Linked DNA regions of Homo sapiens: region 1 is linked to region 2. Evidence: promoter capture Hi-C in 16 types of primary human blood cells and fetal thymus (Javierre and others, 2016). All regions are on one chromosome and are shown on one strand. The core of a region is centred on a gene start or on the middle of the fragment in contact, and the rest is flanking DNA. Distances in the headings are between cores, read along the strand shown. Region 1 holds the start of KMT5A (lysine methyltransferase 5A). Region 2 holds the start of RSRC2 (arginine and serine rich coiled-coil 2).

The links. Contacts are between HindIII fragments. The CHiCAGO score rates a contact against its expected background, and 5 or more counts as called.
Region 1: a contact is called between the fragment with the promoter of KMT5A here and the fragment with the promoter of RSRC2 in region 2, in 1 of 17 cell types (erythroblasts). The highest score is 8.0, in erythroblasts.

The regions. Positions count from the first base shown.
Region 1 is chr12:123,382,130-123,387,978 of GRCh38, reverse strand. It overlaps KMT5A (lysine methyltransferase 5A), which reads right to left and starts at 3,847. Exons shown (of 8, transcript NM_020382.7): 1 at 3,771-3,847. The coding sequence starts at 3,780. RefSeq lists enhancers at 3,217-3,376, 4,217-4,436, 3,959-4,689 and silencers at 3,557-3,726, 4,654-4,876. The HindIII fragment of the contact is 10,259 bases long and covers 3,657-5,849 here.
Region 2 is chr12:122,522,117-122,528,689 of GRCh38, reverse strand. RSRC2 (arginine and serine rich coiled-coil 2) reads left to right here and starts at 1,754. Exons shown (of 10, transcript NM_023012.6): 1 at 1,754-1,842; 2 at 6,391-6,547. The coding sequence starts at 1,837. KNTC1 (kinetochore associated 1) reads right to left here and starts at 1,441. Exons shown (of 64, transcript NM_014708.6): 1 at 1,339-1,441. RefSeq lists an enhancer at 1,615-2,074. The HindIII fragment of the contact is 2,543 bases long and covers 1-1,769 here.

The DNA.
Region 1 (5,849 bases), core at 2,598-5,097, 860 kb before region 2:
AGACACTTCAAGGCATCCAGCTCCTGCAGCCTGGCCCATGGCCTGGGAGTCAGGGGCTGGACTTATTTCCCTGCATCTGCCCAGAGGTGTTTTGTGACCATCGCCAAGTCACTTCCCCAGTCTGGGCCTCAGTGTCCTCATGGGTAAAAACCAAGAACCTTGAATTCCATAATCCACCAGAGCACCTTCCAACATCCACAGATAAGCAAATGGCTGTTTGTAGCCATCCTCCCACCTAGCCTCCCTCGACTCCCATTGGAACGGATAAGACTGAGTAGGATTAGGTGGTGACAGGTCACTGCTCAGACAATCCCTCCCAAATCAGCTCATGCTTTAGCATCCTTCAAGGCAGGGTCTCCAGCCCAACCACTAACTCCAGTGGGCTAGGTACTCTGCCTATGCCCTCTGCAGAGCCTACTACAGTTGAATATCCAAAAGATTACCCAGAGGGTGAAAGAGGATTCGAAAGTGACACTCTGATAACCAGGTTGAGCCATTTGAAAGCGTCTTCTATTTCTGCAAGGCAGAGAAGTTTTGCAGCTTAACTGCCATGAGAATCATGGTTTTGGAGCAGGAAGCACCCACATAGATCATCTTATCCATTTCACATTCTAGTATACCGAGCCACACCCCACGCCCCACTCATGGTCATAGCTTTCTCTGCATTTGAGCCCCCAATTGCAGGGGACACATTACAAGTCTAGCACCTATTCCTCTCAATTCTGCAGCTCCAGTACCTAGAAGATGTAAATACAGATCATTCAATGTAAGTTTCAAAACAGTCCTTTCTCCGCAAGTTTATACGTATATAACAAATACACCAGCTGGGCGCAGTGGCTCACACCTGTAATCCCAGCACCTTGGGAGGCAGAGGAGGGCAAATCACCTGAAATCAGGAGTTTGAGACCAGCCTGGCCAACATGGCGAAACCCCGTCTCTACTAAAAATACAAAAATTAGCTTGGCGTGGTTGCGCATGCCTGTAATCCCAGCTACTTGGGAGGCTGAGGCAGGAGAGTCACTTGAACCCAGGGGGGTGGAGTTTGCAGTGAGCCAAGATTGTGCCACTGCACTCTATCCTGGGTGACAGAGTGAGACTCTGTCTCCCAAAAAAAAAGAAAAGTCTGTATTTTTGGAGACCCCCCCACCAGGTGCTAAGGGATAATGAACTGAAGATGGCAAAATGAGGAGGGCAACCAACCAAGAGACCATTCAACAATGGCAGTAGAAATAGTGAAAGGTAGGTGGACTGACCCCTGAGACTAATATATTGGGGTTGTAAATATTTGCATGATTATAAAACTTCAAAATGAGTGAGGTGTTGCCTGGCATCTGACCAGTTTGTTTCTGTGACCCAGCAGGGCTCTCAAAGTGAATTGCAAGTTCAAAGCCCAATTTTCTAGAAGAAAAAGACTGTTCATTTGAAGTGCTGTAAATGATTTGGTATTTACAATTCTAAATATTGGCCAGGCGTGGTGGCTTTTGCCTGTAATCCCAGCACTCTGGGAGGCCGAGGTGGGCAGATAACCTGAGGTCAGGAGTTCAAGACTAGCCTGGCCAACATGGCGAAACCCCGTCTCTACTAAAAATACAAAAATTAGCTGGGTGTGGTGACAGGTGCCTGTAATCCCAGCTACTTGGGAAGCTGAGGCACAAGAATCACTTGAACACAGGAGAGGGAGGGTGAAGCGGGCTGAAATCACTCCACTGTACTCCAGCCTGGGTGACAGAGAGAGACTCTGTCTCAAAAAAAAAAAAAAAAAAAAAAATCTAAATCTAAATATCCAATTTAATAGCTTGCAAGGGCAGTAAAGCCTAAGAAACAGGTAACTACTAATTTGGGGGTCAAGTGAGACAGTGAGAATCAATAACTAATAATTACATAGGTGATTTGTAAGCTGCCATGGGAGGAGCTGACAAACATTATCTTCGCTTTGGGTAAGTAAGGGAGGTTGGGTGGCACAAGCAAAGACCCAGCCAAGCTAGAGTCTGGACAGCAAGTTTGGACTTCACGCTTCCTCTTCCAAAAAATGAGAATAACAATTTGTAAAGATCAATTGAGTTAATAAAGTGCCTGGCCCTCAGTGGTAATTATTATTATTTTGTTATTGTTCTTGTTTGTTTTTTTGAGATGGAGTCTTGCTCTGTTGCCCATGCTGGAGTGCGGTGACGTAATCTCGGCTCACTGCAAGCTCCACCTCCCAGGTTCAGGCAATTCTCCCTGCCTCAGCCTCCCAAGTAGCTGGGATTACAGGCATGCGCTGCCATGCCCGGCTAATTTTGTATTTTTAGTAGAGACGGGATTTCTCCATGTTGGTCAGACTGGTCTCGAACTCCCGACCTCAGGTGATCTGCCCGCCTTGGCCTCCCAAAGTGCTAGGATTACAGGTGTGAGCCACCATGCCTGGCCATAATTATTATTTAGTCATATTTTAAGTATTTCAATGATAGATGGTTAGTTTTCTTCATATATTAATTAATGCACTACTTTTAAAACAAGTAGTTTAAATGATTTTGCTGTGATGAGAAAAATGAACCCAGGAAGCATAGTTTTATTAAAATTTGTCAGATAAATTAGTCAGATAATGTTAAATATACTTTTAGATGCTTAACACTTTTCAAAGGAAAAATATTAGTATTAATTTTCTCCAAGAGTTGAGTGATGAAGCTCTTTAACCTGAAGTTTACTATGCCTCATTTTTTCATCAGGCTCTGGGTAAGTCTTATCCCAAAAGAACCTCTAGGGATGCTAGGAGAATAGATGATGCAACTGACTTCAGGGCCTGAAAACAAAGGGACCCAATAGATATTTACTGAATGAATCATTATTTTATTCATTATTATTGCTATAGGGAGCATACTGCACTAAAGCAAATTCCTACTAACACTTGAAGCCTTGAAATTTTGAGAAAAATATAATACCAAAACTTTTTTTTTTTTTTAATACTAATTCTACTCAACTTTCACGCTCAAGTTTTTGGCCCTTTGGCGTGAAGGAGACGCAGTGGCTGGAAATGACCAAGCGGTTGGAGATCTCTTTGCCGCATACCTGGGAGGCACTGTCCTGACAGCCAACTAAGTATGCAGAGGACTTCAGACAGGGCATCGCCTCCCAGGGCTGTACAAGCCCACCCAAGCCATCTACCGGGGGGCGAAGTCCTGACCAGATGCGGGGCGAACGACCGCGCCCGCGAGATGCCAGGAACCCGTTTTACCCCAAAGTGGGCCAGCGGGGCCCGGCCTTCGCTCCAGCGGCGCAGAGCTGACTCAGGACGTGGGGAGGGAGGAAAGGCGCCTGCTGCGGTGTCCACCCTGACGCGCACCCCAATATGCAGGTTATCGATCTGCGCCTTCGCCTCGGGATCACCTCCTTTCCCAAAGAGAGAGGGCCCCAAAGTGGGCGAAGCCTCACTCCTGCCCCCGCCCCACTTCTATCAATAACACCTATTCCCTGGAGGTGCCCTGCGCTTTAGTTTCCAAAGAGCTCTGACATATGGATCTGCTGCCGTGGAGAGGCAGGCCCGCAGGTGTTCACTTCATAGAAGGGAAACAGAAGCACGGCAGTGGGAAGGGTTTCTGGGGGCATCTGGAGCCGCAAGGGGGGGCCGGCGGGTTCCGCAGCAGCACCCCCTCTCCCCCCACGCGGGTCCCCAAGCTTGCCCCGAGCCACCCGAGGAGGACGCCTCCCCGCAGCCGCTGCCTCCACCCCGGCAACCCCTCCAGCACGACCCCCGACCCAGCCGCTCCGGTGCCGGCCACTTGGGCAAATACCTCTAGCCATGGCTCCACTCTGTCACCGCCTGGGATCTCCCGGGAAACCCAGCTTTCGAAAAAAGTTGCAACAACTCAGCCAACTGCTCCGCCGGGCTCCAGCTGCTCGCCCCGATTGGCGCCGCCTCCCGCCTCTCCGCAGGCTGCCCGTAGTGATAGGCCAACTCGGAGAAAGGCCCCGCCCTTCTCCCGCCTCTTCGGCGGCGGGGCGTGTCCAGCCGCCGCAATAACTGCAAACGCTTTCCCGACAGGTCCCGGCGGAGGAGGTGGGAGGGGTGTTTAAATTTGACCGTCGCCAGACGTTGAATGGCTGCGATGGAAGACACCCGAGCTGCCATTGGGAGGCCCCAGATTCCTCCCCCTCCCGCTGCTGAAGCTCCGCCTCCGGAGCGTGAGTAGCCCGGCTGGAGCCCTGGGCTCCGAGCCGACCGGATCTGGGACTTCCGGTTCTCTGTGGGCTTGACCGGAACCCGACCTTTGACCCCTCGATCTTCCCTTAAGAGCTGGGAAACCTGAGTCTCCCAGCAGTTTAGCAACTCCAGCACACCGACCTCTCCAGCAGTTTGATCCATTCATTCTCAGGTTTGAAAGGTTTTGGCCGGGCGCGGTGGCTCATGCCTGTAATCCCAGCACTTTGGGAGGCTGAGGCGGGCGGATCACCTGAGGTCCGTGGTTCGAGACCAGCCTGACCAATATAGAGAAACCCAGTCTCTACTAAAAATACAAAATTAGCCGGGCGTGGTATCGCATGCATGTAATCCCAGCTACTCGGGAGGCTGAGGCCGGAGAATAGCATGTAATCCCAGCTACTCGGGAGGCAGAGGTTACGGTGAGCCGAGATCGCGCCATTGCACTCCAGCCTGGGCAACAAGAGCGAAACACTGTCTCAAAAAAAAAAAAAAAAAAAAAGGTTTATTGAATATTCCAGTATTCAAAACCCGGCCGGGCGCGGTGGCTCACGCCTGTAATCTCAGCACTTTGGGAGGCCGAGGCGGGTGGATTACGAGGTCAGGAGATCGAGACCATCCTGGCTAACACGGTGAAACCCCGTCTCTACTAAAAATACAAAAAAAATGAGCCGGGCGTGGTGGCGGGCGCCTGTAGTCCCAGCTACCTGGGAGGCCGAGGCAGGACAATGGCGTGAACCCGGGAGACAGAGCTTGCAGTGAGCCGAGATCACGCCGCTGCACTCCAGCCTGGGCGACAGAACGAGACTCCGTCTCAAAAAAAGAAAAAAAAAAAAACCCACAGACACAACTCCTACCAACTAACTGGGTCAGTAGGGAAGGTCCTTCCAGGACCGCAAAGATCCTAATGCTTCACACCCACCCATTTTACAGATGGGGCAATAGAGGAAGCGGGTCACTTACGCGCTGCCCAAGGTCACCCAGCAATGTAATTGCAGGGCCTGGGTCAGTCTCTCCACTGTTCAAACACTAAATGGCTACCTTATCCCGAGGGAAGCAAGTATTCGCTGTTCCCCTCTGAGAGAGGGGGCTCAGTCAGTATGTTCCCAGAGAATCAGGTGTCCTGGAGTGTCTGCTTTGGACTCAGGGAAGGCGTCCAGTTACTACTGCTCTTCCCTGGGGCCCCTCCCAGGGGTGTGGGACGAGGTCACTAATCCATCCTGTCTCTTTGGTAATTGAAAAGGTTTTGGAGACCCAACCATTGCCCAAAGACTCTTCCAAAGCACCAGGAAAATAGGAAAGGAAAATAAAATGATATATGTGAAAGCACTGGGAAAGGTAGAAAAGGACACTTTTGTCACAAAGTCACTGTGTCACTTGGCACATCAGTTCAGCTCTCTGGCCTTCCATTTCCCTACCTGTCAAATGAAGGAGCTGGTGCCGTAATCTCCAACATGCCTTACAGCTTCCATAAATATGTGGAAGTGTGGCAGTGTGCAGTGGCTCTCACCTGTAATCCCAGCACTCTGGGAGGCCGAGGCAGGTGGATCACGAGGTCAGGAATTCAAGACCAGCCTGACCAACATGGTGAAAACCCCGTTTCTACTAAAAATACAAAAATTAGCCAGGCGTGGTGGTGCGTGCCTGTAATCTCACTACTCAGGAGGCTGAG
Region 2 (6,573 bases), core at 505-3,004:
TTAATGACAGGGACTTAAGCATCCTAGGGTTTTGGTATCTGTGGGAGGTCCTGGAACCAATCTCCCATGGATACCAATACCAAGGGACTAATTTAGTTGTACCCACCTGAAGGAGTTTTCTATTTTTCACTTCTGGTTTTTTGAGAGACGAGGGTCTCACTATTTTGCCCTGGCTGGCCTTGATCTCCTGGGCTCAAGCAATCCTTCTGCTTCAGCCTCCAAATGTTTTGAGTTTTAAATGTTCACAGAACAATGCTTGGTTGATGGCAAACATTCAATTTTAGGTGTTAGCTAATTTGTTATTGGGCTGAGAATTGAAGATCATAGTTTTATAAATGTTTAAAGAGTTCTTCCTAAGAGCATAAGCAAGGGAACAGAAACAAAACATGTTTGGAGAATAGAGAAGTTTCAGTGGCTGGTGTTTGGGTGGGAGTGAGGAGATGAAGAAGGAGGGACAGGTTGGAATGAATACCTTTATGGGTCTCAATTTCCCACATCTGTGAAATAGAGAAACCGCCCGTAACTGCCATATTTACTTATTCAACAAATGTTTATTGAATACCTATTTACTATGTGCCAGACACCTTTCTAGGAACTGGGAATATAGCTTGAACAGAACACAAAATGTCTTTGCCATTATGAAGTTTATGTTTTTGCGGGAAAAACGGACAAAAATAAAATTGTTAATACGTATCTTGTTATGCTACCTCCACAAAAAAGCAACTGCACAAATAATTACAAAAAGTGCTAAATGATTTGAAGGAAACAGTGATTAAATGGATAAGGTGAGGCGTCGCTGAAGAAGGATTTGTTTGGGAAGGGAAGGAGGTGACATCTGAGCTGAGACCTGAATAACAAGAAGTACGCAAAACTTAGGCGGAACGCGACGTAGGCAGAGGGAACAGAGTGCAAAGACTCGGAGGCTGGGTAGGAAGCGTTTGATGCTGCTGCCGGGTCAAAGCAAAAGCAGAAGACAGTGAGGGAGAGAGCAGTGGAGTCCAATAAAACCTCGACCTCAAGATTGAATTTTATTCTCAGTACAAGGGGTAGAAGGGGAACTCAGCAAACGAGTGGTCTGATTTTATAATTTTGAGATCACTCTGGCGGCGGAATGCAGAACAGATTCGCGAATACGAGAGAATGAGCAAGATGAAACACTTGTCAGTTAGGCCTCCATACTTAAACGCTCTCCGCTGGACATCGCCGCCAGCAAAAACCGACTCCAACCTCTCTCCTGCCAGCGTCAAGGGGAAAACAACAGGAACTGAGCAGAGGCTGCAGCTACTTCGTCCTGAACCCACCCCCAGTTCCCTACACAGCGCAGCTCCCCGTCCTCACCTGCAATTGAAGAAACTAAAGAGGAACACTCAGATATCTGGCCCCTCTTCCTGACTCACACAACCGCCTCTAGTCTTTAGGTTCCATGCCACAGGCTTAAATTGGCGGGAGAACACTAAACCCAACCCCTTTACGGCGGCCGGAAGAGACCAAGATTACTTTAGACTCGAAATAGGAAGTTGCCCCACCCTGAGTTCCGCCCATTCCGTTCTCCCGACTGCGCATTCCGGGGGTGTATTCTTGGCCCCGCCCTCTTCACGGTCTTTACACTCCCCTATGAAAGAACACCCAATCACCGCCTCGAATTGCGTTGTTATAGAAACTTTTGTTACCGCCCCTTTTTCTCCCAGCAAGCTGTGCGACGCGCCGGGCCTCCTCGCCTTTGTGCCATCCGGGTCTCTCGCGCGAGCGATTTAGTCTGAGGCGAAGCTTCGGAGCGGCCGGTACTGTTGAAAGCGACAAGTGGAGGCGCCGCTCTAGCGGCCGGGACTCTGAACTATGGCGGTAGGTACCGAATCTGAGTTTAAAGCCAGGGATATTTTTCTGCTACGTTCCAACAGTGGGTGAACGGCTCCCAGAACCTTGTTCGTGTGTATGTGTGTAGACAAAATGGCGCCGCGGCCTTCTTCTGCGCCCGCCATCATGGCTGCCTGCTGTAGGGAGGGGGAAGTAAGGCGGTGTTGGTGGGGGTGGGGAGCCGCAGGGAGTGCCTTTTTTTTTCCAGAACTTTCCTCCTCTCTTCCCCAACCCTACGTTCCTTTCGCCTCACTGAACTTCCTCCATTTTCGCTTATTCACCCTGGCTAGTGATTTATTCTAAGTTTTTTTTAGGGCCTGAGAATTTGCGGTGGAGAAAGGGGCTGGGGAAGAGAAAGACGATCAGGAGTGGTCTCTGAAAAGTATTGGGTCAAAAAGGCAGTGTCTGTAAAGGGTAGTGTGGGAGAAGAGAGCGACTTGTAGCTATTTTTTTTTTTGTACGCTCAATGAGATGCTTCTAGTTGCATAATTTCAATTAGTGTTCGTCCGTGTAAACCTTATTATTGTGTATTAACGAGCTAGGAAGGTATTGCTGAAAGGGAGTGAAAATTCAACTTAAAAGGTTGTGGAACTACCAATTCTGACTGATGCGCGGTTTCCGAAGTGGCCCGTGATGTAATCAATTTGAAGTCCGAGAAGCGTTACAGTTAAGTCTTGTCACTGACCTTGTTCCTTTAAATTTAAACCCTTCGTTGGCCGGGCGCGGTGGCTCACGCCTGTAATCCCAGCACTTTGGGAGGCCGAGGCGGGCGGATCACGAGGTCAGGAGATCGAGACCATCCCGGCTAAAACGGTGAAACCCTGTCTCTACTAAAAATACAAAAAAATTAGCCGGGCGTAGTGGCGGACGCCTGTAGTCCCAGCTACTTGGGAGGCTGAGGCAGGAGAATGGCGTGAACCCGGGAGGCGGAGCTTGCAGTGAACCGAGATCCCGCCACTGCACTCCAGCCTGGGTGACAGAGCGAGACTCCGTCTCAAAAAAAAAAAAAAAAAAAAAAAAAAAAAAAAAAAAAACTCTTCGTTGACCCCAGAGGAGCTACAGTTCGTAAATTATCTATTCTGAACAATAAGCCTGCGTGTGTATAAGATACCCAATTCTGACGGATCCACATTATTTTGTGCTTACCTCATTTTTATTCCGTTAAAAGGAAAATGTAAAGATTTTGCATTCCTTTTTACTGACTAAAAAATTACATCATTTTCGATAATAATTATGACTCTTAAACATAGTGATAGTTTTAAAGTTTGCTCTTCCTAACGATTGGAATGCCTGGGATTAGGCAGATGATTTTCTTTTTCCCCCATACCCCTCTATTATTTAGGTGATTGAGTTTAAACCCGTTTCTTTTACTGTCTTCCTTTGTTTAGTGTTTTGGGCCTCAGTATACTTAAAGAGTAATACTATTTTTCTTGGGTTGCAGGTTTTTTTGTATTTTTTCGAGACGGAGTTTTGCTCTTGTCGCCCAGGCTGGAGTGCGATGGCGCGATCTTGGCTCACTGCAACCTCCGCCTCCCGGGTTCAAGCGATTCTCCTGCCTCAGACTCCCGAGTAGCTGGGATTACAGGCGCCCACCACCACACCCGGCTAATTTTTTTATATTTTTGGTAGAGACGGGGTTTCACCACGTCGGCCAGGCTGGTCTCGAACTCCTGACCTCAGATGATCCACCCGCCTCGGCCTCCCAAAGTGCTGGGATTACAGGAGTGAGCCACCGCGCCCGGCCGGGTTCTAGTATTTTAAAAAGTGAATTTAAACATTTATTTATGCCGTGCCTTGTTCAATAAAAAGACAGTCCCCTAGAGAAGTGACCTAGTATTCAATCCAGTGCTTACCTCCTTCGCAGTGGAAAAAGATTTGTCTATGTTTCGAGCCGTTATTAGAGTTTGCAACAAAATGTAAATTATAAGAAACCAAAGTGGCTACCTCGTAGAGCCACTGCTGGAATAGAAGGCTGTTTTGCAGTTAACGTTTATGTGTACACATAGATTAGTACTAAATTAAAGCTTAGAAAATTTCAGAGCAATTTTAATACTCAGTTTTTGGTAGGTTTTTTTCCTGGATACCTGTATTATGCTACTATAAAATATCCTCAGGGAAATAAAAGTTTTCCATGGCCTCAATGACCACCTATCATTCCTATTTGTTTAGTGTTAAGATGGTTTTTGTTGTTGCTCTGTAGTATATTTTACAGATGAAAATGGTTGATGATGTAAGTTTAAGTTAGCCTATGTCACAGGGAGGTTTCTCTGTTGTCCAGCTTTGTGATGTTAAGCATGAAGTTAAAGTTAGATAAACCATTGCCTGAAAACTGCCTAGGCTAAGCACTAGATTTTCCATGAGAAGGTTGTTTTCGATTCTAGTCTTGTTCTCTGCAAAAGTAAATGGGATTTGCCACTAGTTAAGGAATTCTGTCTCTGGCAAAAGTGTCGTGCAACTGAGAGAAGTAATAGCGGTGCTTAAAATTTTCGAGATCACTTCTGTTTACCAAGTGTAAGCTGTACAAACACTCAGCAAGTAATAAATGAGTCTGAAATAGTCCTCAAGGATAACGATGAAAAAAAAAAGTGTCCAGAATTCATTGTGAAAAATCAGAATCATCCTTAATGATACAGCATTATTTATTAGTAGTAAACAGTAAAGATACGGAGATGCAGTATCATTTTAAGCAAGTCAGCTAATGTTGCTGGATCTCATCTGTGAAACGAGAAAGTTGAACTCTATTCTAAGGGGTGAAAACCTTTCAGCATAAAAATTTTATGGTTCCAGAAGTCACCCAGACTGGAGAAATAAGTACATATACAATATGCTGGCATGAGAGCCTCCCTGGTAGTTAATTTCTTACTGTTCTTTTTGTGCCATTGTTAGAGGAATAACACGTAATTTATGTCTTTCATCTCATAATTGAACTGCAAAACCTTTCTGTTTTTAATTTATCATTTTATTCCCTAAGTCTAGCATTGGTTTTGGCACATTTTTGACCCTTAGTAAATACTTGTTGAAGTAACTCGACCTCTCACAACTTCATTTATTAAAGTACAATACACCCATTTATTGTACTTGATACTTGTTTAAAATTTGTTAAAATACAATACCCCCATTTATTGTACTTGATATTTGGTATTCATTTTCTGGACTAACTTTCCTAAAGGAGGAAGTTCTCTAATGTGATTCCTCCTGCTGAAGACTATCGATTCCCTATTTATTCAATCCAGATTCCGTTTGATGTTATACGTGAAAAGTCCATAAACTGTTTCTGTAAAGGGCCAGACGGTAAATATTTTTGGCTTTGTGGGCCATGTGCAGTCTCTGTCACATTCTTTCCCAGGCTGGAGGGGCAGTGGCGCAATCTTAGCTCACTTCAACGTCTGCCTCATGGGTTCAAGCCATTCTCCTGTCTCAACCTCCTGAGTTGCTGGGATTACAGGCACGCCCCACCACTCTTGGCTAATTTTTGTGTTTTTAGTAGAAGCAGGGTTTTACCATGTTGGCTAGGCTGGTCTCAAACTCCTGACCTCAGGTTATCCGCCTGCCTCAACCTCCCAAAGTGCTAGGATTACAGGCATGAGCCACAACACTGGCGTTTTAAGTGCCTTTAGTTTTAACAGTTCAGTCTTTACAGTGCTATTTACTGAAGTTATTTATTAAATATGCCTAAAATAGTTTTAAAAAACGTAAAAAACCATTCCTAGCTCAAGGCCATACAGAAACAGAATGAGGACCATAGCTTGCCAACCCTTCCTAAGTAATCAATTCCCCAGGTGTATCAATTATTTTATTTTCATGTTATCTTCTCTGGTCAGATAGCCGAGCATTGTCTACCTTCTGCATTAGTTGAAACTTGTAAAATTTATATTGTAATAATTACTTATAAAATGCTTTAAAGCAGAAACAACTTAATGTTTTCATAGCCCAGAGCACATGTGAGGAGAGGCAGACCATATTTTGCAGCAGCACTGTGCCAAGGGGCTGTTTTCATTAAAGAGGGTTAATGACATTAAGATGAGGTTCTCACTTAGGTAAGTTAATTTTCTGTTTATTATTTTATAATATTCTTAGGGCATTGTTTTAAGATTTTATCGTCTTGAGTATCTTTAAGCTTTAACAACTCATTTTTGATGTTTGACATGTATGCTAATTTAAAAGTATTGGTAAAGTCAGCTAAATGCATTCACACATCTAAAAAGGACTATTTTCTCTGCTTGAATGCTTATTAGAACTACTTGGAGCCCTTATTCCTCCCCCACCCCACCCCATGTTTTAAAAGTTATACAAATCATCGTTAGAAAATTAAAGATACATCAGTCTAAATATGTAGGTCTTGCTTTAGTATCAGGTTCGTCATTTCAAGCCATTCAGCCTTATTAGTGTACAAAGCACATTTAGTTACTTGGAAAGCAGGCATTCTGATTTATTGATTGTGGGGGGCTATCTTCCCTCCCTTTGTCCCTCTTTTAAGAAATTGAAAACATTTAAAATGTAATTAAGAACTTTAATCATTTGTTTTTAAACTTTTAGGCTAGTGATACAGAGCGAGATGGACTAGCCCCAGAAAAGACATCACCAGATAGAGATAAGAAAAAAGAGCAGTCAGAAGTATCTGTTTCTCCTAGAGCTTCAAAACATCATTATTCAAGATCACGATCAAGGTCAAGAGAAAGAAAACGAAAGTCAGGTATGAATTCTTAAAGGTGGTTACAA